Linked DNA regions of Homo sapiens: regions 2, 3, 4, 5, 6 and 7 are each linked to region 1. Evidence: promoter capture Hi-C in 16 types of primary human blood cells and fetal thymus (Javierre and others, 2016). All regions are on one chromosome and are shown on one strand. The core of a region is centred on a gene start or on the middle of the fragment in contact, and the rest is flanking DNA. Distances in the headings are between cores, read along the strand shown.

The links. Contacts are between HindIII fragments. The CHiCAGO score rates a contact against its expected background, and 5 or more counts as called.
Region 2: the fragment with the promoter of EXOC8 here is called in contact with the fragment with the promoter of ABCB10 in region 1 in 1 of 17 cell types (naive B cells); the score reaches 5.9 in naive B cells.
Region 3: the fragment with the promoter of GNPAT here is called in contact with the fragment with the promoter of ABCB10 in region 1 in 1 of 17 cell types (total B cells); the score reaches 5.6 in total B cells.
Region 4: the fragment with the promoter of ARF1 here is called in contact with the fragment with the promoter of ABCB10 in region 1 in 1 of 17 cell types (monocytes); the score reaches 6.5 in monocytes.
Region 5: the fragment with the promoter of C1orf35 here is called in contact with the fragment with the promoter of ABCB10 in region 1 in 8 of 17 cell types (neutrophils, naive CD4 T cells, non-activated CD4 T cells and 5 more); the score reaches 12.1 in neutrophils.
Region 6: a contact is called between the fragment with the promoter of GUK1 here and the fragment with the promoter of ABCB10 in region 1, in 4 of 17 cell types (monocytes, non-activated CD4 T cells, total CD4 T cells and 1 more). The highest score is 12.8, in monocytes.
Region 7: a contact is called between the fragment with the promoter of TRIM17 here and the fragment with the promoter of ABCB10 in region 1, in 1 of 17 cell types (non-activated CD4 T cells). The highest score is 5.2, in non-activated CD4 T cells.

What each region holds. Positions count from the first base shown.
Region 1 is chr1:229,557,094-229,560,586 of GRCh38, forward strand. ABCB10 (ATP binding cassette subfamily B member 10) reads right to left here and starts at 1,614. Exons shown (of 13, transcript NM_012089.3): 1 at 1,043-1,614. The coding sequence starts at 1,559. RefSeq lists silencers at 824-1,273, 1,334-2,033 and an enhancer at 2,204-2,393. The HindIII fragment of the contact is 4,467 bases long and covers 1-3,493 here.
Region 2 is chr1:231,335,946-231,339,438 of GRCh38, forward strand. It overlaps EXOC8 (exocyst complex component 8), which reads right to left and starts at 1,907. Exons shown (of 1, transcript NM_175876.5): 1 at 1-1,907. The coding sequence starts at 1,800. SPRTN (SprT-like N-terminal domain) reads left to right here and starts at 2,348. Exons shown (of 5, transcript NM_032018.7): 1 at 2,348-2,659. The coding sequence starts at 2,439. RefSeq lists enhancers at 1,209-2,084, 1,632-1,681, 1,722-1,781, 2,085-2,959, 2,362-2,561 and 1 more and a silencer at 1,342-1,511. The HindIII fragment of the contact is 2,369 bases long and covers 1-2,153 here.
Region 3 is chr1:231,239,697-231,243,189 of GRCh38, forward strand. It overlaps GNPAT (glyceronephosphate O-acyltransferase), which reads left to right and starts at 1,516. Exons shown (of 16, transcript NM_014236.4): 1 at 1,516-1,760. The coding sequence starts at 1,683. FSAF1 (40S small subunit processome assembly factor 1) reads right to left here and starts at 1,479. Exons shown (of 7, transcript NM_152379.4): 1 at 1,328-1,479. The coding sequence starts at 1,445. RefSeq lists enhancers at 1,209-1,548, 1,529-2,418. The HindIII fragment of the contact is 8,993 bases long and covers 1-3,493 here.
Region 4 is chr1:228,080,836-228,084,328 of GRCh38, forward strand. ARF1 (ARF GTPase 1) reads left to right here and starts at 1,873. Exons shown (of 5, transcript NM_001658.4): 1 at 1,873-1,930. RefSeq lists silencers at 1,170-1,299, 1,310-2,129, 2,160-2,259. The HindIII fragment of the contact is 7,793 bases long and covers 1-3,493 here.
Region 5 is chr1:228,101,469-228,104,961 of GRCh38, forward strand. C1orf35 (chromosome 1 open reading frame 35) reads right to left here and starts at 1,857. Exons shown (of 8, transcript NM_024319.4): 1 at 1,666-1,857; 2 at 1,431-1,581; 3 at 1,175-1,220; 4 at 1,010-1,092; 5 at 842-914; 6 at 612-697; 7 at 1-5. The coding sequence starts at 1,759. RefSeq lists enhancers at 1-623, 624-1,343, 1,344-2,064, 2,065-2,784 and silencers at 692-771, 1,022-1,191, 1,352-1,621. The HindIII fragment of the contact is 8,620 bases long and covers 1-3,493 here.
Region 6 is chr1:228,138,350-228,141,842 of GRCh38, forward strand. It overlaps GUK1 (guanylate kinase 1), which reads left to right and starts at 1,930. Exons shown (of 8, transcript NM_001159390.2): 1 at 1,930-2,014. The coding sequence starts at 1,954. RefSeq lists enhancers at 1,557-1,606, 1,717-1,946 and a silencer at 1,957-2,516. The HindIII fragment of the contact is 28,593 bases long and covers 198-3,493 here.
Region 7 is chr1:228,415,034-228,418,526 of GRCh38, forward strand. It overlaps TRIM17 (tripartite motif containing 17), which reads right to left and starts at 1,828. Exons shown (of 7, transcript NM_016102.4): 1 at 1,506-1,828; 2 at 1-80. The coding sequence starts at 39. RefSeq lists a silencer at 1,287-1,396. The HindIII fragment of the contact is 7,787 bases long and covers 1-3,493 here.

The sequences.
Region 1 (3,493 bases), core at 364-2,863:
AAAAGTCGCCACCCTAACTGCTCTCCTCCACTGTGCAAACCTACTCTAAATCCCAAATCACTACCCAGGAGGGTCCTTTCTAAAGCAATGGATTTGCAGCAAAGAATGCTTTTCTGGTGTTGCACCTGACAACCTCACAGGCCCCACAGGCCCCCTTCCACAGCCCACAGGTGCAGGTTTACCTCTATACATACGAATATTTCATAGATGCTTCTCCCCACTAACCTAGAAGCCCCAGCAGAAGTGAGGACCATGTTTCCTTGTGCATGCCACTGTAAACCCAGGGCCCAGTCCAGAATGAGGGCTCAACAGATGTTTATAGAAGGAGTGAAGATTTAGAGAAATCGAAAAAATTTTAGATCTTACAAGGCCCTTGCATCTAAACACTCCTCCAATTATGGCTAAAAAATGAGGAGCTATAGAAAACTGTCCTATTTAAATTTTGTTTCTAAAAACATTCATTTTGGCTTCTTTTAAAAAAGTTACTCAATTACTGAACAGATCACTGGTGTGGCCTGTTGAACACAGTGCTGTAACTTCCTGCACAAGAGACAAGTCTGAAAGTTTTGCTTTCCGCTGTGAAAGCATTGGTGACTGCTTGACAGACTCGCTTGAAGCAAATAATGTGTTTTTGGTTAAAAAAAAAAAGTATAAACGCCTAATAACAAAATAGGCATATTTTTGGCTAGAATTTTTTTTTCCAAGGAAAAACCTCCAGCTCATTTTGCTGCCTAAGCCAAAACAGATGCTCCCACTAAGTTGGTGGTGGAACAGACCCAAAGATTCCAATAATGACATATATAACGTGTGTCAACAAGAAAACAAGTGTAAAATCTGCAAACGAGTCCCCAGCTAAGGCGAAATCTTGACAACGCTACTCTGAGGTGAGCGATCCCCTCCCTCCTCCGGGGTTAGGAGTGGCCCAGGAGAGGCGGCGGTGACACGCGCTCTGCGGCCCGGCCGTGTCCCTCTCGGCGCCCCGGGACCCCGCGTGTGGAGAAGGAGAGGCCCGGCGGAGGGAAGTGGCCGGGGAGGACCCTACCTGCCAGCCTCCGGCGCTCAGGGTACGCCAGCCCCAGGAGCTTCCGGGCCTCCGGGAGTCCGGCCGCTGCGGGGCGCAGCCGCCCCTTGTCCCCGGGAGGCGCCGCCGGCCCGCGCCGCCAGGCCTCGTCCCCTGCCCAGGCAGCGGCTGCGGGACCGCCCGGGAACCGGGCGCGCGGGAGCCGAGGAGCGCCTGGCCCGGCAAAAGCCCCGCACCTGCAGCTGCCGGGGCCGCGAGCCCACAGCCCCAGGAGCCGCGCGAGGCCCAGGACGCCCCGCGAGGCGCCCGGACCCCCGCCCCGGCAGCCGCTCCTCCAGCGGCGCGCGGCTCCAACGCCCCAGAGCAGCGCGGGCCCCGCGCCCCATAGCCGCGCCGGCCTCAGGCCAGTGAACGGCGATAGGGACCCGGGAACGCGGCTGGCCGCGGCCCACACGCAGGCTACCGGCAGGAGCCGACCTGGCTCGGCAGGGCTCGGTGGCTCGAGCAGCCGCAGCGGCCAGGCAGGGGGGCCTCGCATGGCGCTGCGTGCGACCCGTACGCCTCAGCCCGCCGGCCAGGCGCGCGCAAAGCCCGAGGACCCTCCCGGCCCGGCCCCGAGCAAAGGGCGTGGACGCGGTGGCGCCCGCCCCTCCCCGCTGGCTGTCACCCGCCTTATCGTGCCTGCACCCTCGGGCTGCGCCCGCCCCCGCCCCATCCTCGTCCGCGCGGTGCCGCGCCTCTCCGCCCCACTCCGGGGACTGCAGCTACCCGGACCTTGCAAGCCACCCTTCCGAGCGCCCCCAACCCGCTCGGGTGCCCTCCCTGCAGCGCCCCCAACTGCCCGCTGGCGGAGGAGCGCCGGGCGCGCCAGCTGGGACGAGGCCCGGGAAGCCCAGGAGCACGGCTGCGCCTGCGTACTGGGCGCAGGGAACTTTTTCGCGCTTCGCCGTCCCCTCTGGTCTGAACTTGGGAACGACACGAGCTCTTTCTCACGCCGGCAGACCGGGCGGAGCGCGCAGACGCGACCACACGATGGCCGGCACAAAGATGGGGCGGGAGGACAGCGTGCTGGATACGGCGTGGGGCGGGTCCGCGGCCCGGGAGACCCATGCTGGGGCGGCCCTGTCACTCGTCTCGCTGCCAAGCACAGGGCTGAGGTGCGGAGGGACCACTGAGAGGACTTCGCTGCGTGTCAGCTCAGCTCTGGACGGCGTGGAGGAGGTGGTTGGCGAATAGTGAAATGTATATAACTTTGAGAAGGGAAGAGATCGTTTCTTTTTTTTCTTTTTTTTTTTTTTCTTGAGACGATCTCGGCTCACTGCAACCTCTGCCTCCCAGGTTCAAGTGATTCTCCCTTCTCAGCCTCCCAAGTAGCTGGGATTACAGGCATACGCCACCACACCCGGCTGATTTTGTATTTTTAGTAGAGACGGGGTTTTACCATGTTGGTCAGGCTCTTTTCGAACTCCTGACCTCAGGTGATCCGCCCGCGTCAGCCTCCCAAAGTGCTGGGATTGCAGGCGTGAGCCACCGTGCCCGGCCTGAGATCGTTTCTTAACTAGAGCAGAAATTTGAAGACAGGCGTGGTCGAGGCATTCCCGCTGTTCGAAGTGGAAAACACTAATCAGAAGGCAATGCATCTTAATACACGTGCATGGAAAGACAGGAGAGAACATTAAAACTCACTGGGACACTTTATGGAGACTTCATGGGGGCGGGGGGGGATATGTACCTGAGGTCCAGTGAGTCGTGGGTAGATTTTTGTAGACTCCTAGGTATTTTTACTGGACCTGGACAGGGTACTGTCAGTTGCAAATTTTATGGGTTCACAAAATAAAAAAACCTCAATAATCAACATAAACATTTTAGTGCAATATTTTTAAAAATCAAAATTAATTTAAAAAATCCGTAATGAACAAAATATAAAAAATTTTGATTGAGTATCCACTCCTGACCTTTCACAATCCTGCCTCTCTTCTCTCGCTCTAATCCCAGCCCTGGAAACTTTATTTACAAAAACTGACAGCAGCTGCCCTTAGTTTGGCAGCTGGAAAATGGGAAAGAGAAAGTAAGAGGAAGGTGAGATTTGGGTTAAAGTTGTCACTTTCTCTTCAACTGGGAGGGTATCAATCCTTGATGTTTCTTTAGTTGGGCTCAAAAAGGAGGTAGCGGCCGGGCGCGGTGGCTCACACCTGTAATCCCAACATTTTGGGAGGCTGAGGCGGGCGAATCACGAGGTCAGGAGTTCGAGACCAGCCTGACCGACGTGGTGAAACCCCGTCCCTACTAAAAATACAAAAATTAGCCAGGTGTGGTGGAGCGTGCCTGTAATCCCAGCTACGCAGGAGGCTGAGGCAGGAGAATTGCTTGAACCCGGGAGGCGGAGGTTGCAGTGAGCTGAGATGGTGCCACACCGCACTCCAGCCTGGGAGACAGAGCAAGACTCCGTCTCAAAAAAAAAAAAGAAAAGAA
Region 2 (3,493 bases), core at 657-3,156, 1.8 Mb after region 1:
GTTACTTACCCCACAACTTTTCATCTCTTCTTTGAGCTTACCCAGGGCTTCTGGCGTCATCAAGTTCATCCTCCTCCACATCTCTTCAGAGTTGCGATGTTTAGTGGCTTCAATGATGATTTCTTTGTAACTGTGCAAGGCCCCTTGGATGTCTTTCACCAGAAGGGCATGGATGATGAAGGTGAGATCCAGTCCGATATCACCCAGTTGCTGGCAATGCTCCTTAGCCACTTTTACACACTCAGCTGCTGTAGAGAGGCTCTCCTTACTATCAAACACCTGCTTGCTAAAAGCATCCACGAACATGCCCATGGCTGATCTTGCCCAGACCACAAAGGCAGAGTAGCAGCCGCTGTCAGTGCCTGCAAAATCGATCTCAAATTCTCTTGCAGTCTCGAGAAGGCTGGTAAAGAAGACATGGCACAGCTTATGAATATAGAGTAAAGTGGCACCTTCGATGCGAAGCTGACGAATTGCAGTATGAACAGCGGCTGCCCTGTTTCTCAAAAATAGCTCACAGGCCTTCGTGCACTGGCCCAGCCGGATCAGTTGCGAAACTGCTCTGCGAGTAGCCTTCGGACCACCTCTCAGGGAACGATCTGGGGAGAGTTCGAAAACTAGCACCTCAGTGAGCTGTCGAACTCGCTCCTCCACTTTGGCCCTTAGTTCTTTTACAGGAGGTGGGCTAGGTTTATCTTCCAGGTAATGGTTCAATTTATCCAGCAGGTCAACCGCCCCTTCAAAGTCTCTCTGCGCAATGCAGACATCCAGGTCTTCAGGTAACTCCTGGATCCATTCCATGGAGAGGTCCACCTTCTCTTCCTCTACCTCAGGAACAGCTGGTTCTTCTTCTTCGTCATCCTCAAATGGGTTAGTGGCCTTGGAAGTCACTTGGGGTGGCCCTCGAGGGGCCGCTGCCTCCTCCTGCTCCCTTCGCCTTTTCTCACTGAGGGCCCTCTTGGTGTCCTCCAGCACTTCCAGCCACTCTCGTTTGATTTTAGCATTTTCGGCCTGGAAAATACGGCTCTCGGGGAACATAAGCAGCTTGAACATGTCCTTCATGGGCGGGTTGTCCTTGACATTGACTACGGCCAAACCATCTAGGGAATAGAGAGCGTTGTAGCGATACATCCCACGCCGCTGAGGCAGCCAGGTAGCCACCAACAAGCAATCGTTCATGAGAAAGCCGTGCACCCGCTGCAGTTGGGCCATGTGGTCCGCATCGTATTCCACTAGGTCCCCATTGTACACCAAGTACTGTCCCGGCGTCTCCAGCAGATGCCTGCAGCCTTCCACCTTCTCAAGCAGGGTGGTGAGAGTGCGCTGCTTTCCTTCCTCGCCTGGACCGGAGCCGTCGCGGGAGGCACCCCCGGGGGTGGAGAAAAAGCCGGCCTGGCCTCGGAGGTGGTCTCGGCCCCCCGCCCCACCGACTCCCTCCTCCCCTCCAGAGGCGGCGGCGGCTCCGGCGGCAGCAGCGGCAGGCAGCAACGTAAGCGGGATGCTCTCCAGGCTGCTTTTCTGCTCGGTCAGCAAATGGCTGAGCTGGTACATCTCGCTCTCCAGGTAGGAGATCTCGCGGGCCGTCTCTATGAACTGCCGGTAGTTCTGGTAGACGTTGCGCTTCAGGTTCTGCGCCGTCTCCTCCGCCAGCGCCTGGATGCGCTGCCGGTGCTCCTGGAGGTCCCGGTCCCCATCCGACTGCTGCGAGAGCTGCTTCACGTACAGCCGCGCCTCAAAACCCCCTGACTCCAGCTGCCGACGCAGGCGGCTCGCCCCACTGTCCGACATCGCCATCGCCATTTCTCTCCGGGTCTCACGCACTCACTGTCACTATCGGCGCCGCAGCCGCCGCGGCTGTCTAGACCCACCCAAGGCCAACCGAGCTCCTGGGCTGAGGAAGCAGGAATGGGAACGAGACGAGTACGCCTGCGCCGGGTCTGAGCGTCAGACACTGCGCCTGCGCAAGTGGGCCGAGCGCAGACATTGCGCCTGCGCAGCAATGCCATCGGTTAAAGCGCATGCGCAAGATGAGCTATTGCGGAAGTGAGGGGAGGGAGAGGCCGAGAGAAATTTCGGTACTGCGCATGAACCGAGCGTGACGTTGAGGTTTGAAATAACCGGCAAAGAGTAAAGGCTGAAACTAGCTTCCTGAAAGCTTCGTAGGGCCCGAGCCCTGTGAGCCCAGGTTCTGCGCCCACTAGGAGGTGTCATGCTGACTGCTTTTTTTAAAGCCCTAGAATCTTGGCTTCGGCGTTTGGGGTAAGCTCCGTTCTCGTTCTCAAGCGCGTTTCCGCGAACTCTCGCGGGATTGACGGGCCGTCTCGAGAGCCGGCATCTCCTAGGAGCTAGTCCTGGTCCTCGGCTAGGCGGCTTGGGGTCGCGGCGTAACTGGGGAGCCAGCCTGACGCCGGCGGACCCCGCCTGTGATCCTGGCAACGATGGATGATGACTTGATGTTGGCACTGCGGCTTCAGGAGGAGTGGAACTTGCAGGAGGCGGAGCGCGATCATGCCCAGGAGTCCCTGTCGCTAGTGGACGCGTCGTGGGAGTTGGTGGACCCCACACCGGACTTGCAGGCACTGTTTGTTCAGTTTAACGACCAATTCTTCTGGGGCCAGCTGGAGGCCGTCGAGGTGAAGTGGAGCGTGCGAATGACCCTGTGAGTTCCGAGCCCCGCTGGGGAAAGAGGCGGGACTGGCAGCTTTCCTGCAGCCCCCGGCCCTGGTTTTCTCTCCTTTCTCTAGTCCGACGGTCCCAGGGGGCGTTAAATGAGGGGAGTCTGGTTTTGGACCTGGCAATTCCTGCCTCGGCGTGTTTCTGTCTTCCTTACCTTTTCTCCCACTCGAACAATAAGAAAGCTGTGTAGACCACACCGCCACGGTTGGACTCAGGGCCGTAACAAAAAAGAGATTTTTATTTGAATCTCACTTCACTTGAAAATAACAAGTTCCTGATTTGCCTTATGATAGTGCTGTAGGACCCAGAAGGGAGAAGCAACCAAATCTGCACCTAAGAAAGTGCTGAGGACGCAGAGTAACTGCCAAAGGATGTGTGTTCTCCTCCTCTATTCCCGTTAGGAAACCCACTTTAGTTAGCTCGTGTGTTGCATTGGGGATCTTCAGTGATGCTTTTAAAACGATTCTTTTTCTACACGCTAAATTTCAGAAATCCCTATTTGAAATAATAATCTACTCCTGCACGTGAACAGGGTTAAGTTTAAGATACAGTTGTATCCCAGCATGCTTGTTTTTGAGTTGATAGAAAACAACCTACTGTCAAACAAATTAAGATATGATATTAAATTGTGTTTAAAGTACCAATTTCCTTTATACAGGCGTCTGTTATGATTTTGGAGATATGCTACTGGAGATATCTGCTTGTTAATAACACCGAACTGTAACTTGTCGGAAGGAGACTGGGAGTAGCAGAATAGGATTGCCTTTGAGCTGTTGCAGCCTAGCTAGGGCAAGGGGAGCTGCAGTTGGGCCATGTG
Region 3 (3,493 bases), core at 266-2,765, 1.7 Mb after region 1:
CCTGAAAGTTCTAACCAGAATCCTAGGCATCCTTACTCACATGTATTACAAATACCACAGAGCTCTCTAAATTACCAGCTGCTGATTTATGCTTGCTACTATTTGCTTAATCTTTTATACAATAAACATTTAAGAGCCAACTAAACTTTGGCATTAAGGATATAAAAATGAATAGACACATTCAATGCCTTCAGAGCTCCTACCATGATTTCCAGCCTGTGTTGACATGAACTATATTATTTTGCAGAATAGTCTTTTCCTCTAGATTTTAAACTTCTCAAGGTCAGAGACTAAGTCTTCTCTGTCCTCCAATATGTCCAAGGGCACAGAAATGCTAGTTAATACAAGCATGGGGTCTGGGGCTAGAATCAGAACCCAGGCTCTGCAAAAATTACCAGTCAGACAACCTGCATCAGGTTTCATGAACTTCTAGTACTTGTTTCTACATCTGCAATCATGGATTTATGACAGTGTCTATTTCATGAAGTTGAAAATTAAATGAGCAAATACACGAAAAGCATGTGCTATATGGCAAGTTCTCAACAGTTTTAACTATTATTCCTACTGTTTAGGTGAACTTAGAATTTTGAGCAGTCATTCCAAAATAAAAATAGCTTTTAAAATATCACGCTGTAAATTTAAGAAATGTGTGTTGTCCTGAAATCTAATGATTTTCTTTGGTGCATGTGCAAAGGGTGTCACCTTCTCCCGGGAAAGCTCTTCAGAGTATGAGGCACTGTCTTCCTACTGACATGCCATGCGACTTTAATAGGCTCTTTTATTTTCCTTTTCCCCCATCAAGACAAAGAACGGAGAGTAAAAGATCAGCGCACTTGTTTAAAAAAAAAAAAGTCGTGAAAAGGACAACTCGCCAAGGACTATGATGTCTCTGGAGAGGGACACACAAGGATGAAGCTGGTGTATTATCCAACAGGCCCGAGGCCCCAGAGCGAAATGACACCATCGCACCAGGGTCAGGCAGGTCTTGGGGGTGGCATGGGGAAAGGGGACTTCCCAGGGCTCAAGAAAACGTGGAAAAGCGGGCTACTTTTAAATCGGAAAGCCTTGGTGCTTCCTACAAGCAAGTAGGATGGTCCCCACACTTGGGGACGAGTTGGAAGGTTTGATGAATAACTCAGCAGAGCCCGGTCGAGGGGTGACTTCCGATGGAGAAATGTGTTCGCTACTGGAACCAGGTGGGACGAAGGGTGCTTGACATGCAAGAACCTTTAGCCTCAAAGCAGAGGCCAACCCAGGACGGGCAACACAGGAGACCCACGTTCCTCAAATCTGTTCTCCACGTGGGCTCCTGGGACCCCGCACTCACCAAAGTCGTAAAGGTTCTGGAGCAGAGCGTCAAGAAGTGTCGGAGAACTGGGAGGCGTGGAGGACCCCGGCCCTTGCTCCTGCGACATTGTGGGGTCAGCCGAGGAATCAACCCTCATTCTGCCGCGCTGCACCCCCGCTTCCGGGTTCCGCGACTGCGCGCATGCGCTGCAGGGCCCTGCGCGGCTTCCGTCCTGGCTGAGATGGCGGCGCCCGGGATCCTGTGTAGCGGCTGCAGAGGGTGCCGCCGCCCTAGGCGAAGTAGGGCCGTCCTGAGCGAAAGAACCGCCCCCAGCAGGAGCACCACCACGGCTTAGCAAAGAATCCCAGACCCCGCCCGGGAAGGCAGCCGCACCATGGAGTCTTCCAGTTCATCTAACTCTTATTTCTCCGTTGGCCCAACCAGTCCCAGCGCTGTCGTGCTCCTCTACTCGGTAGGCGCCCAGGGAAAAGAGGCCCAGAGCGGAGCCGCGCGAAATAGTACCCCTTTCTCCCAGTCCCTATTCCTCCGGCCCACCACCCTTGCCCAAAAGAGCTGGCCCCTAGGCTCCCGAGGAGGGGTTAGTTGGTTGGATTGGTTTCCAGGACAACAGTGTATCGCTGTGTGTCTGTGTGTGCATGCTTTTGGAAGTTTCTACGGATTATGGTTCCTTTGGTTCCTTTCCACTTTTTCCTTCTCTTTCTTTCTATCAGGCCCTGGGGCCTTCAGAAAGCTCCTGGACACGAGAATGAGGAATGAGAATTGGAGTCTCCCCATCTCTAGCGAGGGCATGTCGAGCTACCTTTTGGGCAAACCTGAGAAACTTGCGGGTTTGACCCGCCCTGAGATAGCCTGTGGCTCCGCACCCCGCCCTATGCTGCTGTTATATTCCTGGGAGTAGAGCACTTGGCTTGTATGTGGGAATAGAGTTTTAAACACTTCAGGAAAATTTAGAACTTCTAGACATTTTTATTGCCTGTTCTTGTCTTCCAGTCATTATTGTACCTTTTCCACAAATCATTTTGGAGGACAGCCAGCGCCACCCAGCTTCTCTCCCGCTTGTCTTTTTTTCCTCCAACCCCCTCTTCCTCTCTTGGTTTTAACGGGTCTTTTTGGCTGGCAGATGTTGGTCACCCACGATTTTCATGAAGAAATTATGAGATGGGAGCTTTATAGCCTTCAGGATTGCACAGACCTGGGGCAACTGGTTTGGTTTTTGTTTGTTTCTTGTTGTTTTTAACCACTAAATTAGTTTTTAGCTACTTTAGGAGAAAATGAAAGAATTCATTTTAAAAGCATATTAGCATATCCTGGTGATTACTGTCCAATTTTGGCTTAAATGTAGTGTTCATTTGTGCAGAAAGGTCAAAACAGGGATAACACAGCAGAGCAAGATAAACACCCCAGTTTTGAAAGAGAATATATGGGTTCCTTCAAATTGAGACACCAATATTCTTTGGAACATGGAGAAACTTCTGTTCCCTCTCTATCAAGACCTTTCGGTTTCTGATTGCTAACTGCCTATAAGCCTTATTATTTAGATATATCTCTTCATTGATCTTATCTTCCCCACAGTTCTGTGGTGGATATCAACTTTGTTTTCTGACTCTGCTACTCCAGAGCAGGCACGAAGGGAAGAGGGTTGCTGTGCAGATCCAGCTTTTAACATGTAGCTTTTTAAGCTCCCAACTGGTTTGTGAATTGGTTGGAATTTTCCTTTTGTACATTAAAGGAAGGAGTTGGTTTTGTTTGTTTGTTTGTTTGTTTTACTTCCCCTTTACCAACGGTTCTTTAATAAGACTTGAGTCCACTTTTTCATGTGAAAAACTATGGCAGTTGTATCTGAGCATTCTGTAGTTCTGATGCTGGACAGCAACCCACTCTTTACTGGTAGTTCTCACTACTGTTTTGTGACTGGATAACCTTTACTTCCACGGTAACCTTACTTTTTCTTAGTACTTCAGGCTGTTTTTATTTCCCCAGCTACGCTGTTATTGTGTAATATTCTGATCTAAAAGTAGCACTTTAGAAGCGTAGAAGATACTGCTGATTGCAGCAAACATTAGGAATATATACAGTATCCTACTCATTATTCTCAGTTTCCAAGATATAGAAGTTACAGATGCAGGCTCTGCCTTTAAGGGCACAAAAAGTCATAAAAGTAAACAAACAATCACAGTTAAGTAT
Region 4 (3,493 bases), core at 623-3,122, 1.5 Mb before region 1:
TCTGCATTTTTTCACATTAAAAAATATATATTTTAAAGGGGCCAGGCACGGTGGCTCACACTTGTAATCCCAGCACCTTGGGAGGCCGAGGCGGGTGGATCACCTGAGGTCAGGAGTTCGAGACCAGCCATGGCCAACATGGTGAAACCCTGTCTCCACTAAAAATACAAAAATTAGCTGGGCATAGGGGCAGGCGCCTGTAATCCCAGCTACTTGGGAGGCTGAGGCAGGAGAATTGCTTGAACCCGGGAGGCGGAGATTGCAGTGAGCCAAGATTGTGTCACTGCACTCCAGTATGGGCGACAGAGCAAGACTCCATCTCAAAAATAAATAAATAAATAAAAAGTATTTTAAAGGAAGGGGAGGCAGGCTCTGGTTCCCACACAATCCCCGCTCAGTGACCCTGGAGCCACCCCTGGCCACGCTCTGCCAGCAGAGAACCAAAGCCAGGTCCCTTCAGCCCTAAAGAGGCCATAACCACATGTAACCCCCGTGAAATGTCCGCACATGGCCCCGCTCTGGCTGAGCAGGGAGAGGCAGCACAACCAGAAGGTTCCACAGGCATCCACAACCCTCCCTGGGGCTTTCCAAGAGTATCTGAGATGCCTGTAGGGTGGGAGACGTCCTTCCCCTAAACAGACAACCCTGCCACAGCTTCACAGAGGTGAGATTTCGGAAGGGAGCCCCAGGCAGAAAAAGGGACTAAATTTGGGGGCAGGAGGGTCACCGCTTTTGGGGACCTTCGTAGCCCCCGCAGGTGCAGCCCTGGGGGAGAGATCTGCCCATCGCAGCCTCCAGAGGCAGTGAGGACGCCCTGCCCAAGGGGCAAGCAACGTAGGTGATGGGGGCAGCAAAGGGGCGCAGGAGGCCTGGGCCAGGCCCAGTGATCCCACCCCTCAGGCCCTGCCCCCGGGCCTCGGCCTGCACAAATCAGGTTGATTCCCGACCTCCACAATACCCAGGGCACTGTGCTGCAGGGACACTTTCCCACAAGCCCAACCCCTCACAGCAGCACAAGGGAAGAGGCAAGAAGACCTGAGGGTGGTGGGCAGAGCCAGGCCTCCAGCACACGGAACACAGAGGGACTGCAACGGTCCTCTGTTCAGGTGCCTGAGAGCGGGATCTCCTCCGCCTCAACTGGATCTCAGCTTAAAGGCCAGCTCATTAGAGACCACTGTGACCTCCCTTCTGGGCGGCCGTCCCCAACCCTGGGCCCCACCCCCACGGCCCCCGCCTCACCCCGGGGTCCCCAGGCCACCTCCTCCTTTGCTTCATCTGCGGCCAGCTCCCCGGCGTCTGCTCCGGGCCCAGGTATGAGCCCGCGCGTCACTGCGGCCGCCGGGGCGCCGAGGCCAGTGCGGGGACACAGCAAGCCTCCCGCCTTCGGACCTTCCGCCGTGGCCCCGCGAGTGCCACAGGTTTCCACAGGGCCGGGGCACGTGGACCCGCGCAGCCTGGGAGCCAGGAACCCCAACCCCGGCGAGGGGCGCCTCGCACCCCCGTCCTCACGCAGTCCCCGAGGCCTCCCGGTGACTGCCGGGTGTGGGAGGAGGAAGGTGGCAACCAGCCCCGCAGCTCCAGTTGCTGCAGGAGCCCCCCGGGCCTCAGTCTCCAAATACGCCAAACGGGCGGGAGTGAGCCACAGGCTGTCTTCGCGGAAGACTCACAGGCGCAGGCGCAGACGGGTGCGCGCCCCTAGGGTGCGCGCGAGCTAAGACCGCGGCCCGGGGCAGGGTGTCCCCGGCCCCGCCCCCTGCAGCCCTACCGGAGCCAGCGCGCCTGCGTCGCGGGCGCACGGTGGGCGGAGTTCCCGGCGTCTCCGCCCCTTACCCGGCGTGCCCCGCGCCCGGAGGCGCTGACGTGGCCGCCGTCAGAGCCGCCATCTTGTGGGAGCAAAACCAACGCCTGGCTCGGAGCAGCAGCCTCTGAGGTGAGGGCGAGGGGCGCGGGCCGGTGTGGGCCGCAGAGACGTTGGAGCCGGCGGGGGCTGGGGACTGGCCTCGGGGCGACTTGAGGTTCGCGAAGGGCACGTCGACCCCCGCGGCGGCGGCGGCGACAGGGCCGGGCCGGGGGCGGACGCAGACGGGCCGGGCTGAGGCTGGGGCCCGGCCGGAGTCGGGGCTGGGCGGACGGGCGGGTCGGTGAGCTCCTCGCACCCCTCACAGGTTCCCGAAGTCGCTCGCGGCCGCTTGTCCTCCTCTGCCTGTCCCTGCCCCCGCCCGTCGCCCGGAAGTCCGCTTGGACGCCGGGCTCTTCTCCAGGAAACCTGGGCTTCCTGCTTCCCTCGCCTCTGCCTTTCTCGTTTCCCGAGGCCGCCCGCGCGTGGACGGTTGGGATTAGCGGCCGCGGGGGCCGGTGGGGGTCGTGGGGCCTCCCCCACCCGAGTACAGGCGAGCGAGCGGCATCCGGGCGGACCCCCGCCTCGGGGACCGGGAAACTGAGGCTCGGGCGGCCTGAGACGCCGTCAAGGTCATGTAGGTGGTGGGGGCTTGCATCTTCGCCTCCCGACTCCATCCAGTTCGTGTTTGCTGTGAAGACGGTACCGGGTCAGGGGTGGTGAGAGCGGGCGGGCAGGTGGACAGGAACCCCGTGCCCTTCCCTGTCTGCTGAACGGAATGCGTGGACCTCCGGGGGAGCCCAGAGTGCCTCCCTTCACACCAGTGAGACGCAATTTGGGGTCAGCACTCAGGGCACCGGTGGCCTCCAGAGGGCCGGTCGATCTTCGCTTTAACTCCAGGGTGGTTTCCTTGACGTTGTCGGCAGTAGATAAGAAGGCCTCTTCTGAGCTGGTGAATCTTTAACCTACCTGAATCTTTAACCTGCCTGCGGAACGACCTGCTCGCAGACTCTAGGCCGCAGAGGCCGGCCCCAGCGCTCTCTCGGAGCACAGCCTGGGTGGTTACGGCGTGTGAGATTGGGGCTGGACAGCCGTGCGCACCTAGAGTGTTAAATAACCATTCCGACGGCACCTCCTGGCACTCCCTTTCAGTCCAGGCAGCCAGTTGCTGCTTTGCAGGAATTGAGCAGAAATGCACTCGGAATCGCGGGCAGGAAAAGAAGGGAGGTCGGAGGCTTTGGATGGTCCCCGAAGTCGCCGCCTAGTTGAGAGCTGTAGAGTTGGTGCCACTGCCCCTGTTGGAGTGGGCAGTTGTAGTTCTTGTTTCAGAACTAGTGGTCAGCAGTTTTCTTTGCCGGCTGTTGCAAGGCTGGTGGTTCTGGCGTTTTCCGCAGTGTGTTGGGAGGAGTGTGAGATGCCGCGGTGCAGTTGTGTGCGGCCCCTGTGGCCCTCTGCTGTTGCGTTAGCCATTGTCTAACACGTGTGACCGCATGGATGGTGTCCTCATTTAATTTGAATTTTCACCAGCACTGCCTAGGTAGCCAGAACCATAAGGTCCTGAAATGCCGTACTATTAGCTGGGTCCAAAATTGAGAAGAATTGAGTAGTGTAAATGTTAGTCACACATCTCATTGGACACATTGTTAGAGTGTGTTG
Region 5 (3,493 bases), core at 607-3,106, 1.5 Mb before region 1:
CACAACTACAAGGAGGATACAAGGTGTGCCTCAGACCCTAGTCTTGCAAGCCAAGAGAGTGAACACAAGCAGGCCCCATCCAGATGAAGCCACCACCCACAAGTGCGTCTTTAAATCAGTTAAATCAAACTACAAATTCCACTCCTCAGTTACGTAGTCACGTGGCCAGTGGCTACGTGGGTTAGAAACAGATGCAATATCCCCATCTCCACAGCACGCCCCTGCCCCACCCCAGCCGTGCCCTTGGCAGGTTGACACCTTCCTACCTGCACCCACCAGGCCACTCTTAGGGTCAGGCCCAGGCTCACCATCCAGGAGAAGCCCTGGAGGTGCCACCCACGGCAGGAAAAGGCCCCGCCCCAGGTCCTGAGTGCCCTCCCACGGCACAGCGCCCGACCACTGCCAGTACTTAGGACCTCTCTTCAAGGGTGACCCGAGAAACTCCCCTAGAGAAAAACCTAGGAGTAACTGGGACAGGAAGTAAAGTAGGGCAGGCCACCCGCCGGGCCGGTGCGCCAAGAGAAGCTGCCACCTGCCCGAGTGGGAGCCGCTCCGGTCCTCCCGAGACCCCCCACCCCGGGGCACAGCTAGCCCAGGTGGCACAGCCTCACCTGCTTTCCGTCTGATCCTCCGCCCGCGGCTTCCTCCTGGCCGAGGCTGCCGAGGTCCCGGGCCCGCCGCTCTCTACGCGGTGATGCTGCGGGAGAAGCGAGCTCTGCGGAGGAGTCTGCGGGCCGGCCCCACACCACGCCCCGCAGCGCCCCGGGGAGCTCCGTTCAGTGCCCCCGCCCCGCCCCACCCCTGTTAGCCCCTGCTGCGGTCAGGCGGGGCGGGGGATTACCGTGAACACAGACAGCCCCAGTTTGGCGGCCTCCTTGTCCTCTCGGGACATCGCCACGCGGCCCACGGAGCCACTGCAGGGACATGGCGATGAAGACAGTACGGCAGGGGTCCGCCTCACCCGAGCAATCGAGCCCAGTGCTGCCCTCCCCTGGAAACCCGCCCGCACCTTGCGCTCCCCAGCCCCAGCAGCCGGTCCACGCCCTTCTCCTCGGGGTCGCCTCCTTCCCGCTTGCAGACCTCCGCGAAGTCCTGCAGGTGCGAGAGCACAGGGAGCGCTCGAGTCGGCCCCACACCCACGGCCCTCCACGCGCCCCCCACCCCGGGGAGTTACCTCCTTGCTCAGGCCCGTGGGCTGCTTCTTCACGTTCTTGTAGCCACTGCGAGAGGGCCGGGGCAGGCGTCAGGACGGACGGACCTCCTCCCACCACAGGTCCTCACCACTCCAGCCTTCGTCCTCAGGGTCCCGCCCGCGCGAGTCCCCGCAGCCCCGCTCCCGCCCAGCCCGACCCCCAGTCCCCGGCCCCGGCCCCACCCTGCCCCGGCAGCGCCGTCCCAGGCACCGACCGCTGCCGTCCGCGGACACTCACAGGGCGGCCAGCAGCGCCTCGCGCTCCGCCTCCCGCACGGCTGCCAGTTCCTCCTCGCGGCTCGGGCCCGCGCATGGCGCCCGGCCCTTGGCGTACCAGGTGAGGTCGCGGCCCTTCTGCCAGCGGCCTACCGGCGCCATCAGCGAGTTGCCTGCGGACGTAGACGCTGTGAGTCCAGCGCCCGCCCGGGATCCCGGAGCCCGGAGCCCGGAGCCCGCCCACCGCGCGCACCCACCCAGGTAGTTCTCCCGCTGCTTGTCAGTCTTCACGTCCTCCCAGTTGAACTGGTCCTGCCCGCCGCGCACGCCTCCACGACTGGAGCCGAACATGGCGCCGGGAAGGCAGTTGCCTGGGGCCTGCGGCTTGCAACCTGCAACCCGCAACCCGAGACCCGCTACCCACTACCGTCGGACCCAGGCCCGACCCCGCCTCCGCGTCGCGCGCCGTGACGTCACTCCCGCGCCCACTCGGCTTCGCCGCGCGCCTCTGCGCAGCGCACTGCCCCGGATCTGTGCTCCCGCGCATCACCTCCACGTCGGCTTTGGGCGCCTGCGCACTGCGCCTACCCTGCCGGGCGCGGGAACGCCTCTGAACTGGAAGTTTAAAAATGGTTAAAACGGGGCCGGGCGGAGTGGCTCTCGCCTGTAATCCCAGCAAGTTGGGAGGCCGAGGCGGGCGGATCGCTTGAGGTCGGGAGTTCGAGACTAGCCTGTCCAACATGGTGAAACCCGGTCTCTACTCAAATACAAAAATTAGCCGGGTGTGGTGGTGCACACCTGTAATTCCAGCTACTCAGGAGGCTGAAGCAGGAGAATCACTTGAGCCGGGAGGCAGAGGTTGCAGTGAGCCGAGATCGCGCCACTGCACTCCCGCCTGGGCGACAGAGCGAGACTGTCTCAAAAATAAGAAGTTAAAATGGGCCAGGCGCGCGCGCGCCCCTGTAGCCCCAACGCTTTGAGGCTGAGGCGGGAGGATCTCGAACCCAGGACTTCGCGCCACTGCACTCCAACCTGAACGAGTGAGCGGACCCTGTCTCATAAAAAAAGAAAAAAGAAAACACACAAGATGCGCCTAGTTAACACCGCCAATTGGTCACTGCTAGTCGCGATTCCATATCGGGAGCTTAACAAGGTAATGACCTTAATGATTTGTGGAATTTCTGAGTATTACCCAGTAAACTTCTGGATGAACCAGCAGCTACCCAGACACCCTCAGAGCACTGGTCCTATCCCTGCCGTGTTAAACTGAATGTGCACCCTAACTCCCATGTGAAATCCTCACCCCAAGGCGTTGGTGCTTCGGAGGTGACTAGGTCATGAGGACAGAGCCTTCATAAAAGGGACCCCAAGAGCTTTGTGCAGCTTTCTACTGTGTGAAGGCAGCGGGAAGGAAGTCTGCAGTCTGGAAGAAACCCCTTACCAGAACCTCAGCGTGCTGGGCACCCTGATTTTGGAGGTTGTGACGTACCCCTGCTTCCCCTTTCCACTTTCATTCCCAGTGCTGACTGAGAAACAGAGTCCCTTGGCCACTCTGTGACTTCGCCAACTGTATAATTTCCTCTGCAGACTTGAACCCGAGCCATAGCCATGAACGTTCCCAGGCACAGATGACAGTAACTAGGTTGTTGCTCAAAACACAGAAAGAAACTGGACTCAGCCTGAGCCAGATTCCTCAAACCCTCATATAAATTCCATTCACCAACCCCCTCCCCCACGGACATACCTAGAGAGAACTTCATTTCTCTCACTGCCTATTGCAAGAACTGCTGCAGCCCACTCTGTACAAAAGCCCCACGAATAAATGCTCTGGGCGAATCACCCTGGCATGCTCAATCTGTAGAATCCTAACCAGCCCCATCTCAGGATGGTGTGGGGCACTCCCTTGTGGGAACTCTACTGCCACCACTTTTGGGGCAATTCCAGCCACAGGTTGAACTGGATGAAATACAGGTCTACTGTCCTGTGGGAAATTTCTGTTTCTTAGTGACCCAGTCCATGGGTCAGGCTGTTAGAGCAGGCTGGCAGACAGCCACACGTCTGGCTCATCTATCTACTTAGCAAGTA
Region 6 (3,493 bases), core at 680-3,179, 1.4 Mb before region 1:
TGCCTCAGCCTCCTGCGTAGCTGGGACTACAGGTGCCCGCCACCACACCTGGCTAATTCAGGCAGGGGCTTTTATTCTATTTTGTAGAATGAAGGCTGCCTCAATTCATGAATCACGAATAAAAGCCAGCGAGACCTATGAATACATATGACATAATTTTGCCTCTGACAGTGAACTTCCCCTTTTTTTGCCTAAAAAGCTTCTCCTTGCCCACCTCCCCCAATGCAGCACCTATGGTATGACATAGCACATGTATTCCAGGTTACAATCCCTTGTCCAACAAACTGTTTTATTATTAGTATTTAAAAAAAATAGAGACAAGGCTTTGCCATGTTGCCCAGGCTGGTCTCCAACTCCGGGGCAAGTGATCCATCCGCCTTGGCCTCCAAAAGTGCTGGGACTGCAGGCATGAGCCATGGTGCCCAGCCCCAACACATTTTTTTGAAGTTGTATTTTTTAAAGTTTTACTTTTTTTCTTGCTCTCCTGCAGTTCACATTCAATACTTTTTTTTTTTTTTTTTGAGACGGAGTCTCATTCTGTCGTCTAGGCTGGAGTGCCGTGGCTTGATCTCGGCTCACTGCAACCTCCACCTCCCAGGTTCAAGTGATCCTCCTGCCTCAGCCACCCCAGTAGCTGGAATTACAGGGGCCCACGACCACACCCAGCTGATTTTGTATTTTTAGTAGAGACAGAGTTTCACCATTTTGGCCAGGCTAGTCCCAAACTCCTGGCCTCAGGTGATCTGCCTGCCTCGGACTCCCAAAGTGCTGGCATTACAGGTGTGAGCCACTGCACCCAGCCTTCAATAAATCTTTTTTAAAAATTTAAAATAATTTTTAGAAATAGAGTCCCGTGGCCAGGTGCAGTGGCTCACGCCTGTAATCCCAGCACTTTGGGAGGCCAAGGTTGGTGGATTACCTGAGGTTAGGAGTTCAAGACCAGCCTGGCCAACATGGTGAAACCCTGTCTCTACTAAAAATACAAAAATTAGCTGGGCGTGGTGGCGGGCGCCTGTAATCCCAGCTACTCGGGAGGCTGAGGCAGGAGAATCGCTTGAACCTAGGAGGCCCAGGTTGCAGTGAGCAGAGATGGCGTCACTGAACTCCAGCCTGGGTGACAAGAGCGAAACTCCGTCTCAAAAAATAAAAAAAGAAAGAAATAGGGTCTCGCTCTGTCACACAGACTGGAGTGCAGTGACACGAACACCGCTCACTGCAGCCTCGACTGCCCAGGCTCAAGCGACCGTCCCACGTCAGCCTCCCGAGTAGCAAGGACTACAGGCACAAAAAAGTTTTTAAATTTTTTGGTACAGAAGGGGTTTCCCTATGATCCCCAGGCTGGTCTCCAATTCCTGGCCTCAAGCGGTCCTCCCGGCTCGGACTCCCAAAGAGCTGGGATCACAGACGTGAACCACGCGCCCGGCCACATTCCCCAATTAATGGTTTTTGGAGAGTGGCCGGTTTGGAACGGGCTAGCGGAGTCGTTCGTTAGTTAGGTCCCTGCAGTGTAGATGGAGGACGGAAACGGCGCTGTGACATAAGCGGGAGGAGGCGGGCTGAGGCAGCGCTGTGACGTAGCAGATGAAAGCCGGGCCCGCGCTGCACTGAGGTACTTCTCTGAGTGACAAGCGGGACAAGTACGCCGTGGGCGGGGCCGGCGGGTCGTGATGTTAGTTCGCGCTGTGTGGAGGCGGGCCGGCGTGGCGCTGTGACGCAGCGGGAGAAGACGGGCTGGGAGGGCGCTGTGCTGAACGCCCCTGCGGTCGCGACAGGCCAGCGCAGGTGGAGGCGGGGCTAGCGAGGCACTGAGGTAAGTACTTCCCTAAGGGGCGGGGAAGAACGAGTGAGACATGGGCGGGGCAGTCGCCTCATGACGTCAGTCTCGCGCGCGGGCGGAGGTGGGCCGGTGCGGCGCTGTCACGTAGGTTCAGTGGGCGGAAGAGGTGGCCCCGGATGCTGCGGCGCCCGCTGGCCGGGCTGGCTGCGGCCGCCCTGGGCCGGGCCCCACCGGACGGTGAGTACGACAAGCGCGATCGCGAGGGTGACTCGGGTCGAGGCGGCAGCGGTCCCTGCGCTTTGCGGTCGCCCAGTCCACGCCGCCTCCGGATCTCCTCCTAGCCGAGACGCCCTGTGCCGCATTCAACTGTGGGCCCTGAGAACGGGGGAGCTCTGGAGGGCGGACGGGCTGGCAACGCAGCGGAGCCCGGGTCCCGGAGGGCGGGGCGCTCCTCAGGAGCTGGGCAGGCCGGCAGTTATCGCAGTGTCGAGCTGCTCCCCGGGCGTATAGGAGCGCTCGGTGTCTTCCCGACACCTGGGCGCGCCGCCAAAGAGAGCAGCTGGGAGTCCCTACCGCTGGCCCGGCGCGGTGTGCGCTCCGGTTCCCACCTCACCCTGCAAGCCTTGGGGTCCTGGGCGGATGGAGCCGGCTATTCCGGGGCTCCCAGGATTCTGCCTACTCCGCGGCACGGCGCAGAGACGGGGACTTGGGGAAACAGCAGGCCTTCCCGACGCATGGGTGTGGCATTTGGGGTTCGGATTCTCCAAAGCCAGAGTCCGGGTTGGGGTTCTTGAAGCTGCCCTGCTGCCATTCTTGAGCGTCGCCTTAGAAGTATGCCCCAGTAAGGACTGGTGTGGGAAGCAGGTGCCTCAAAGTTGATTTTGACCCTGCGTGTGGTGGGCCTCGGTTTCGTCTTTGCATGAAAGAGGTCGGTCCTGAGGCCCCGGGCTGGGTCCTGCTCTGCTGTCTTTGGGCTCATGGCCCCTTCCTGTCTCAGGCTTGCTCTGCTCTTTACCTGGGGTTGCTGTCGAGGACCCTGTGCAAGACTCGGCCGGTTTTTCTTTCTCCCTGATGGACAGACCCAAACATAGCCGCGCAGCATCGTGAAGGGCTGGGGCCTTCACTCCTCTGTGGCTCTGGAAGAGCCCGATTTCCTCAGGAGGTAAAGGAATGTTCCTGTCCCCCCCGGGGAAAGAAAGTGAAAATGAAAGCGCCCTGGCTGCTCCTGGTGTGGTCCCATTTAAAACGAGGTTGCTGAAGGCCAGGATGCGTGCTACCCGGATGTGTGCCCAGAAACCCTGCAGCCAAGAGCAGCCGCCTGGACCACCAGCCTCCCCTTCATCCACCTGGCCCAGCCCAGAGCCCAGGCCCACGTCTGGTGGTTTGTGTCTTACGAGAGGCCAGGCGGGGGCTGAATTCTCTCGGTTCTCAGAAGGTCAAGCCCTCTGTTAGCATCTCCTCGAACAGTGGGCCGGGGGCAAGGTGGTGACTCTGTTCAGTCCTTAGGATGGCTGGAAGCCAGAAGGAGGAGATTATGCCGCCACAGCAGGGAGTGCCTTTCCAGGAAAGCGGCTGCTGGGGCAGCATGGGAGCCCAGTCCAGGGAGCGTTCTGGCAGAGACCATTCCGGAACATGGATCTGCGCCGGCGGCTCCCAGGAGACCTTCCATCTCGGAGCTCCTGTGGAGACCACGTGCCTGGCAGGTCCTTACAGTTG
Region 7 (3,493 bases), core at 578-3,077, 1.1 Mb before region 1:
TTCCTCCTGCAGTTTTCTGGCGAGTTCCACAGCCTCCATGGCTCCTGGGAGACACGAGGCAGGTTCCCGCTTGAGGGACTCTGGAGAGAGTTGGAGGGAGCAGCCCGATGATCTGGGCGCCGGCAGTGTGCAACCGTCCTGTACAGCCTCCCTTTACAGAGGAGGGCTAGGACTGCAGTCCAGTTAGAGAGTCCAGAGTCATCATTTTTAGCCTTGTCAACAACAGACACAGATGCCTCCCCAGAAACTACACAGACCCTCCCTGACCAATGCTCTGCAGGCCCCTCCGCCTCTCCTCTCCACTGGGCCTGGACCCTACCCGTCCACTTCCGCCTGCTGCTGGCTACCCCCAGCTCCACATCTCATCAGCTCCTCCTCCCCGACAGACCGTTGCCGGCTAGGCCTTCAACCTGCCTTTCTGGAGAAGCCTGCTAGGTCAGCTTAGGGAGAAGCCCCTACCCTTGGAGCCTTCCCTTAATCACTTTCCATCCACTGACCCCACCCAGATCCCCACTCCAACTCCCCCATACATCCCCAGCTGTCTTTGCTGGCGCAACTCTCCCATTGCAAGTAGCCTGACTAAAGAGCCTTTCAAATGTCAGAATTTTTTCTTTAACAAAACCCCGTACACCAAAGGAAGAAGGGATGGGCTATCAGAGGAAAAAAGCTCTCTTCCATTCGGTAGTGAGGTGGGGTTCAGAAAAAACACGCGTGTGCATGTACGCACAGACGAACACCCATACACATACCCATGTATGTATACAAACGTGCATGTGCACACACGCATACCCACGCATACACACCACACAAATACAAACATGTACGCACAGAAACACTGATCCACAAACACAGCACACACAGGCACAGATGCACATATCGGTAAACATACATGCATGTACACACAGGTACACGCGCGCACACACGCACAGGCACACAAGCATGCACATAGATGCCCCCTGCAATCTCAACACTCGCGACCCCACGCAGTGGAGATCTACAGACTTTCGCCTACGCCACGGGGTTGCTATGGGGACCGAGTTGCAGAAGGAGTTGAAAATCGCGTCTACACTGCAAGCACGATTCTCCCCTTCCGTTCTGCCATCCCCTAAAGCGAGGGCGTCTAGGGGTCTCAGACTTCCCCGGCTCTGTCCCACGTCCAGTTTCTCGGAGCTTTCTGCACGCCAACCACCCGGCGCCAGCCCTCCGACTCCCCCCAAGAGCCCTAACGGAGGCACCCAGCCCACCCTGACCGAAGCCGGGCAGGGACAGCGGCAGCGGGCCTGGGGCTCTGGCTCTGGCTGCCGGGATGGCTGTCCTTCCCGCTCTGGTCCGCTAGGGTCCCGGTAGAGTTACCTTGTTGAAGCGCGCTAGCCCCTCCAGGGACGCGGCGGCCGGCGGAGGCGGGAAGGCCGGGCGTTGGAGGGCGAGGAGGACCGGGTTAGGCTTAGGTCGTGGCCCAGGCGCCACAGGAGGGTAGCCTAGGCGGCGGGGTGGGGGCTACTCACCGCGGGGAAGGGGGGCCCGCACAGCGCCTAGTGCACCTGGCCGAGCGCTCGCTGCCGGGAAAGGCTGGGTCTGCCCCCACGAAGCCCAGGAGGCTGCGGCCCGGCCCGGGGCGTGGGGACCTGGGGTCGGGAGGCCTAGGGACTTTGTGGCGTCAGCGGGGGCTGGGGGGCGGCGGGGGAGGGGAATGCTGGGCGAGGGAGTGTTCGGCGGCCGGGACTGGGGCGGCGCCTCTTAGGAGAGGTTGGGGGTGGCTTGGGGAAGGAAGGCGGCAGGGGGTGGAAGGCTCTGGACGAGCCGGGGACAGGCGCAGCGGGTGCTGACTGGGCGGTGGGGAGGATGTGGTCCACAGCCCAGCGAAGGGAGGAGTCTTGTTGGCCTGGGGTGGGACTTTTAGGGGAGGTTAAGGGAGTGTGGAGGGTGGGGAGTTGGGGGGTTACTTGGGGGTGGGGAGTGGAATGGGGACAGCTGGTGGGGCTAGGGGCGGGCAGGCGAGCGTCAGGGTGGGGGGAGTGGGATTGGAAGAGGCTTCTCAACCTGGGGTTGGGGCTGCGGGAGGGCACGCGAGCCCCAGGCTGGAGGGTTAGGTGAGGGGCTAAGTTGGTCGGGGTAGGGGATGGAGAGGAGTTTGTGTGGGCTGGGGTGGGGGCGAGGCAGCAGGAGCGAGTGCCTGTTGAGAAGCTATGAAGGGGGTCCCCAGGAGCAGCCAGTCAGCCGCCAGGTCTGCCCACATGGTTGGCAGTCAGCATCAGGCTGAGGGTACAGGGAGGGGCGTCCCAATCCTGTGGGCGGACCAGTTTGGAGGGACCACCTGGCAGGTCAGGTCCCCTAGAACCAGGCGGGACGGGGTGGGTCTTGCCGACACCCCAGGTGGTTTTGTTACCAGAAACAGGTCCTGATCCAGACCCCAAGAGAGGGTTTTGGATCTTGGGCAAGAAAGAATTCGGGGCAAATCCATAGAGTAAAGTGAAAGCAAGTTTATTAAGAAAGTAAAGGAATAAAGAGTGGCTACTCCATGGGCAGACCAGCCCCCAGGGCTACAGGTTGCCCATTTTTATGGCTATTTACTGATTATATGCTAAATAAGGGGTGGGGTATTCATGAGTTTCCCAGAAAAGGAAGGGCAATTCCAGAAACTGAGGGCTCCTCCCCTTCTTAGACCATATAGGGTAACTGTGACCTTGTCTTGGCATCTGTAAACTGTTGTGGCACTGGTGAGGGTATCTCATAGCATGCTAACGTATTAAAATTAGCATATAATGAGCAGTCATGATAACCAGAGGTTATTCTGGTCGCCATCTAGGTTTTGGTGGGATTTTGCTGGCCTCTTCACCACATACTGTTTCATCAGCAAGGTCTTTATGACGTGTATCTTGTGCCAACCTCCTATCCCATCCTGTGACTTGGAATGTCTAACCTCTGGGGAATGCAGCCCAGCAGGTCTCAGAATTATTTTACCCAGCCTCTATACAAGATGGAGTTGCTCTGGTTTAAAAGTCTCTTACGGTTTCAGCCAAAATGCCGCCCCCAGCCCTGCCCAGGTCCTGACTGGTGGCCATTTCTCCTGGCCTTGAGTCCCCACGCCTAGTCATCACGCTTCATCCTCCAGTAGAGGGATGCACCTTTCACATGGAGGGTTCATCTCCTGCTTTCAGGAACAGGAGCCAGAGGCCTGCGTGCCCTGAGTCAGAGTCCTGGGATTGGAGAGAGAGGACAGATGAAGAAACTAAGGCTTGGCCCACACAGGGGGTGCAGACAGGCAGGAAAACAGGGCCTTGAAGGCTAAGAGGCACCATTCTGCAATCTCCTGGGTGTGCGGGTGTAGACAGCTGGCCACAGGCATAGATGGCTGGCTTTCCCTGGGCTCACTCGGTAGAGTGTTTCTTCTGTGGTCTCTCATCACTCGCACACACAAAGGGGTCTGTGTGCTGTCAGGTGCGGGCTGGCTGCGCACACTGGCCGATTAAGTGAATTACCCTTGTGAACCCAG